2 separate regions of the Homo sapiens genome follow, and region 1 is linked to region 2. Evidence: promoter capture Hi-C in human tissues and cell types (Jung and others, 2019). All regions are on one chromosome and are shown on one strand. Each heading gives the region's core, a stretch centred on a gene start or on the middle of the fragment in contact. The rest is flanking DNA. Distances are from core to core; before and after follow the strand shown.

Evidence for each region. The method cuts DNA at HindIII sites, captures the fragments that hold promoters and counts their contacts. A contact is called where the count stands out against the background at its distance.
Region 1: a fragment that was not itself captured here is called in contact with the fragment with the promoter of SYTL1 in region 2 in 1 of the 25 tissues and cell types used here (dorsolateral prefrontal cortex).

Annotation. Positions count from the first base shown.
Region 1 is chr1:27,760,485-27,763,973 of GRCh38, forward strand. It overlaps FAM76A (family with sequence similarity 76 member A), which reads left to right. Exons shown (of 9, transcript NM_152660.3): 9 at 11-2,632. The coding sequence ends at 97. Among named protein-coding and RNA genes, the nearest start is that of STX12, 11 kb to the right of the region's middle. The HindIII fragment of the contact is 6,157 bases long and covers 1-3,489 here.
Region 2 is chr1:27,340,244-27,343,271 of GRCh38, forward strand. SYTL1 (synaptotagmin like 1) reads left to right here and starts at 1,779. Exons shown (of 15, transcript NM_001193308.2): 1 at 1,779-1,907. RefSeq lists enhancers at 1,400-1,659, 2,190-2,239, 2,414-3,028. The HindIII fragment of the contact is 14,194 bases long and covers 1-3,028 here.

The sequences.
Region 1 (3,489 bases), core at 213-2,712, 420 kb after region 2:
TTTTCTTTAGGCCAAAAACCGAGAGCTCCTGAAGCAGGCAGCTGCTTTGTCCAAGAGCAAGAAGTCAGAGAAGTCAGGAGCTATAACCTCTCCATGACAGACCTCAAGGAGGCTCCCTAGCAACAGCAAATGGAGTTGTCCAGGGTTAGGGTTGGAGACCTGGCTGTTCTGTGGGAATTGCAAGCTTTCTTAAGAAATCTCTATTTTATTACAGTTATCCTTCTTTGTGCGATTGCAGTGGGCTGAATGGAAACACCTGGTTTGTGCTGTGTTAGACTGCATGCTTGAGTGTTTGGGATTTCAAGCTCGCTCTCTTTCTCTCACTATTAGGACTTTTCTTTTTCTTCTTCCTCTTCTCTCTATTTTGGTTCTATTCTTTTTTTTTCTTTTTTCTTTTTTTTTTTTTTTTTTTTTTTGTGGTGGTCACTGCTCAGTGTAATGTGCAGAATGATTTGTTTTTTGTTTTTTTTTTTTTTTTTGGTCCTTCATTGCATCCTGCCATACCCATGAGCAAACAGTTTGGCATTAATTATATATCACTGCCACCCTCTGAACTTTGAAAACTGCCATCTTCAGACTTGGTATAATGGAAGAGGCTTTCTCTCTCCAATAAACCTTTTGCTTCAGGGTATACTCTTCGGTTTTTTTCCAGATGTATTATGTATGAACTTTGTACTATGTATAGCCAGAGTTTTATTTATTTTTTAAAAAAGAAACTTTTTCTTGATAAAGGAATAATGGTGGTCTAGCTAGTTCTTGTAAAAGTGATGCCTCTTGAAAAAAAAACAGTCCTATTCACTAGCTTTTAGTAAAAGAATCAGATCTTTTCTTTCTTGTTACCTTGGAGTCTTAAAAACTGATTGCTAAGGTGAAACAATTCAATGCATAAGTATGGAGCTAAGTGCCTTTTGGAGGATTTCTTGGAAGAGCATTTATGGAGATACTTAAGGGAGGTAGCAAAGATTTGAACCGTCTGTCTTTTTAAGTAAGGGCAGAAAGCAAGGTTGTCCAGGTTGTACTGGACACTTCTCTCCCCACCCCTTTCCTGATTGTTTTATGTGATTGATTTTAAATTCTCACACTGCCACTTCTTTAAAAAATAAAATCCTTTATTTGCTTATATCAGTTGTCATACTGGGCTGCTGTCAGAGAATGTTTTTTTACATGAATGAACAGATTAAAAATGGAATAATATGGTCGGGTGCGGTGGCTCACGCCTGTAATACCAGCAATTTGGGAGGCCAAGGCGGGTGGATCATTTGAGGTTAGGAGTTTGAGACCATCCTGGCCAACATGGTAAAACCCCATCTGTACTAAAAAAATACAAAAATTAGCCGGGCCTGGTGGCATGCACCTGTAATCCCAGCTACCCAGGAGGCTGAGGCAGGAGAACTGCTCGAATCCCGGGAGGCAGAGGTTGCAATGAGCTGAAATCGCAACACTGCACTGCAGCCTGGGCAATGGAGTGAGACTCCGTCTCAAAAAAAAAAAAAAAAGGAATAATATTTGAACTACAGAGCATTTTTGGGGTCAGCATGAGCTGCTCTAGTAAGGACTCTTGAGTCTGGGAAAAGTGGTATCACTATACCTTCTCCCCACTCCTCACCCACCCGAGCCCATACACTCCCTGCTTTTCATGGATATGTATTGAAAACAGGTGCTTCTCAGAAGCACTTTGCCTCAACCAGAGTTATGTATGCCCTGCCTATCTTCCCTTCTTAACCCTGTAGGAATATGGATTTACTTTTCCAGGAAAGGGGATAGATTTACATTTCTAGGCATACTCTCAGGTCCTCTATGTGATGTTTGTGAAAGGAATTAGGGTGTGTCATGTGTGCCATGAAACAACAAAACCAACTACCCTAGAATCATTTATGCAGGGGGTACTAGAGTTAGAAATAATAATGAGGGCAGATAACATTTGTACCTCAGTCTACCAAAAAATTATAGTACTAAATTTAACTTCTAGGCGTTTCCTGGAAGCAGATGCTCTATAATTTGTGATAGCATTCTCATAAATGGAGTCCTACACATAATTGGACAGAGATGTGGAAATGGTGGTTTCCTTCTGATAAGGGATACAGTGGACCATGTCGCTTATATATCACCCTACTAGGGGATATAATTTTCCCTTCTAAGCAAGGGAAATGGCAGTGCTAAATAGTTTTGTAAAGTTTTTGAATGAGAAGCTTTTAGGTAAAGATAAACTGTCATAATATTTTTCAGATGCATTTGCATTGACTATGGGAGAAAAATTAGGGGGAAATGACAGTCATGGTGTTTTTTTTTAATTTTAAGGACTGAAATTCTGTTACATGATGTATGACAATATAAAAACATACTTAGTTTTATACTAAATCTTTTTTTAAGGTCTTGGCATTTAATATAAAGCAAATTCACACGTTTTCTAACTTTCCATAAGTTCCAAAAAGGGAAAGAAGAAACCTCAGTCTTGAAATTTTGATTTTTAAAAATCATGACACTGTTTTACCATGAAATTGAGTAGCTAACTTTTGGTAACACCTTTTGTTTCTTTGTATGTTTGTAATAATGGACATTTTAAAACACAGGAATGTTTTGGTTTGTACAGACTTTGACAAATGTGTGTTAATAAAAATTCATATTGACTCAAGTGTAATTGTTGGATTTTGTTTTTATTTCTTGCTGTTTACCAGTAGACATACCCCGTTATCCCCTTCAGCCCTTCAGCCTAGAAAAGTTTGTCTTGCTTATAGACTTAAAAAATTAAAAGCCTAACTGCTAATTGGGAATTTCCTGTCCATTAGAGAATAAACTCTTTCTTTCTCTCTTCTATGACTGTTTTGAGACAGAGTCTCACTCAGTCATCCAGGCTGGAGTACAGTGGCAAGTAGATCACTGCAGCCCCGACTTCCTGGGGATTCTCCCACCTCAGCCTCCCAAGTAGCTGGGACTACAGATGCACGCCACCATACCCAGCTAATTTTTGTATTTTTTGTGAAGATAGGGTTTTGCCATCCAGGCTGGTCTCCAACTCCTGGACTCAAGCCATCCACCCACCTCATCAGCCTCCCAAAGTGCTAGGATTACAGGCATGAGCTACCACACCCAGCCTCTTGGTGATTCTGTTTACCCAGTGTAAGTGCTCATGTTGTGATAGGCACTGTGCTAGGCAGCGCGGTTACAGCAGTGACAAAACCAAGTTATTGTACTTATGGGGCTTCCATTTAGTGGAATATTGGACACCACCACACCACCATTGTTCCTTGATTTAAAAAAAACTTTTTTTTTTTTTAATGGAGTCATGCTCTGTCACCCAGGCTGGAGTGCAGTGGCATGATCTCGGCTCACTGCAACCTCTGCCTTCTGGGATCAAGTGATTCTCCAGCCTCAGCCTCCCAAGTAGCTGGAACTACAGGTGGCGCACCAACACATTCAGCTAATTTTTTTGTATTTTTAGTAGAGACGGGATTTCACCATGGTGGCCAGGCTGGTGTCGAACTCCTGACC
Region 2 (3,028 bases), core at 529-3,028:
AGTGAGCCAAGCCAGCCTGGGCGACAGAGCAAGACTCCATCTAAAAAAAAGAAAAAAAAAAGTCTGCAAGGATCTCACTGAATTTTAGTGAAAACCCTCTAAGGAGAGATTACCCCCATTTAACAGATGAGAAAAATAAGATTAATTTGCAAAAAATAAGTAGGGAAGCCTCCACTGTGGTTCTGAGGTGGAGGAGGGTCCTCTGTCTCTCAGTGGTGGTGGGAGTCGGTTCTGATTACAGGAAGGAAGAGTGGGTGTTTAGTTTTCTTTTCTTTTCTTTTCTTTTTTTTTTTGTGACGGAGTCTCGCTCTGTCGCCCAGGCTGGAGTGCAGTGGTGCGATCTCGGCTCACTGCAAGCTCCACCTCCCAGGTTCATGCCATTCTCCTGCCTCAGCTACTCGGGAAATAGCTGGGACTACAGGCAGCCGCCACCACGCCCAGCTAATTTTTTTTGTATTTTTAGTAGAGATGGGTTTTCACCGTGTTAGCCAGGATGGTCTTGATCTCCTGACCTCGTGATCCACCCGTCTCGGCCTCCCAAAGTGCTGGGATTACAGGTGTAAGCTACCACGCCCAGCCTTGTTTGCTTTTCTGAGACGGAGTCTCGCTGTGTTGCCCAGGCTGGAGTGCAGTGGTGCGATCTCGGCTCACTGCAACCTCCGCCTCCTGGGTTCAAGCGATTCTCCTGCCTCGGCCTCCCGAGTAACTGGGACTGCAAGCACCTGCCACCATGCCCGGTTAATTTTTGTATTTTGAGTAGAGACGGGGTTTCACTATATTAGCCAGACTGGTCTCAAACTCCTGTCCTAGAGTGATCCGCCCACCTCGACCTCTTAAAGTACTGGGATTACAGGCATGAGTCACTGTGCCCAGACTGGTTTTGTTTAGAATCCACCCCTTGTCCTGCCTCTCCCAGGGGTCTATGAGGAGCCCACTAATCTTTAATCCATGGCCCTAGGTTCAGGGGAGGGGGTTGGGCCAGGGCAGGCCATGGGAAGTGAAGTGGACTTGGGGGGAGTCAGAAAGCTTTGGTGTGGCCTCTTGTGCCCAAGACAACCCAGGAGGTTCATGGTCCTGAAGCCAATGTAATCTAGGGCCCAAACCTTCTAATCTCAGGGTGGGCAGAATCTAGGTGTAGAATGGGGTGAGTTCAGGGGGGCTCCACATAGACAGAGGGTGTGGGACCCTCACCTTGGCACTAGAAGAGTTCAGGCCTCCTCAAACAGATGGGGCTCAGGACAGCAGAGGGGACAGAGAGGGCTGCTCTGCCAGCATGTCCCAGAAGTGCATGTGGATATAGAGGGCAGCAGCTGCTGAGATGGCCGTGGGCATTAGGCTATGCTGGAGTGGGGACACCTCACCCCGACTATGCCAGCTCGCACCGGGCACTTTCACTTCCCTTAGTATAGGCTCCTTGCACTCTGCTACCCACAGTTTGCATCAGAAGAAATGGAAGAGACCTGCTTAAGGTCACATCACACACCCACTGGCAGAGCAGGGACTCTGCACAGGGTGGTCTAACTGCAAAGTCTGCCATCCTGCCATTCCCCTTGGGGCTGGAAAAGAAAGGTTTCTAACTTGCTTTCAAAGCGAGTTCCTATCAGCCCCGTTGTGGGCAAGGTGGGGCTGCTACCCGTTCTAGAGGGCCTGCTCAGTGGAGCTGGGGCCAAGCTGGGCCTCTCCAGTCGGCTGCGGGGGCGCACCCCCGGGCGCTGGGAGTCCAGGCCCGGTTTTGCATCAGGCCCTGCCGAGGTGTTTCCTCCTCCTCCGTGTGGGGCAGCTGCTGGCTGGGCTGCCTGTTGAGTCAGCCTTCTTCCCTCACGGCTCTTCTCCCGGTCCCTGAAACTCGGCTGCCAGGGGAGCTGGAGCCACCTGCGAAGGTGTCCTCCCATACTGGACCCCTACAGGTAACACGTGTCGGTGCCAGGGTCCCCTGCCAGGGTCCAGAGACGCAGGCACTGCCACCTGGTATCCTGAGCACCCTCCAGCACCTTGGGGTTGGGGGAGGTGGGCACATGTCTGGAACTGGAACAGCTGGACAGATGGACAGACCCTCCTCTTGACCAATGGGTCTGTCCCACCGTGTCAAAACAGCAGAGAAGACCAAACTCCTACCTAACTCTGGTAGGAGATTCTGCCTCTGGTTGGTAGGAGAGGGGACTTCAGGGAGGGGGCACTGCTGAGGACGCTGGGCTGATGCCCATGGCCCAGCTCAGGCAGGCCTGAAGGACAGAAATAGGCTCAGTTCTGCCGAACGTCCCCCCGGCCTCCATCCACACTCAGACACACACACCTGGTGGCCCCCAAGGCACCAGGGGACACCCCACAGCACACAGCCCAGTCACACATACAGCACAGGAGGAAATGCACAATGCATACTGTACACACCCCACACGGCGCTGTCACCTAGAAAGTCACTGAACACACCACACAGACAATATAGTCACCATGCAGCATCACACTGCAACAGGACACAAAGACACACAGCAACTACACAGCTCACAGACTCACGCAACGCAGACATGCCCACCAGACTCGGACCCACACAGCCACACAACAGGGCACAGAGAGGGACGTGGGCTCACACCCCAATCCACAGGGGAGGCCGAACGTGGGCTCACACCCCAATCCACAGGGGAGGCCGAACGTGGGCTCACACGTTGGCCACAGAAGTCCAGGGAAACTGCTGTTGTGGAGCACACAGGTATCCACAGAGTGAATGCACACCGTGCAGCCGTGCTGAGGCCTTCTGCTCCTGAGGGTGTCAAGAGGGATCGCTGGGGCTCGGCCACTGACTCAGCTGGGAGGGGACAGAGCATAGCAGGCGGCGGACACAAGCCAGGACCTGCCCGCCAAGCTGCCTCCGCCGGTCTCAGCCCCACCTGGAGCCGTGGCAATGGAAGGGGCGGGGAAGAGAGGAGAGGCCGCCCAGTGGGCTCAGGACACAGCCCTGACCAAGTCATGGGCCCCTTGCCACGTCTACATGCCCCTCAGCGCTGGGCAAATGCTTTCTTTCCGGAGTCACTGT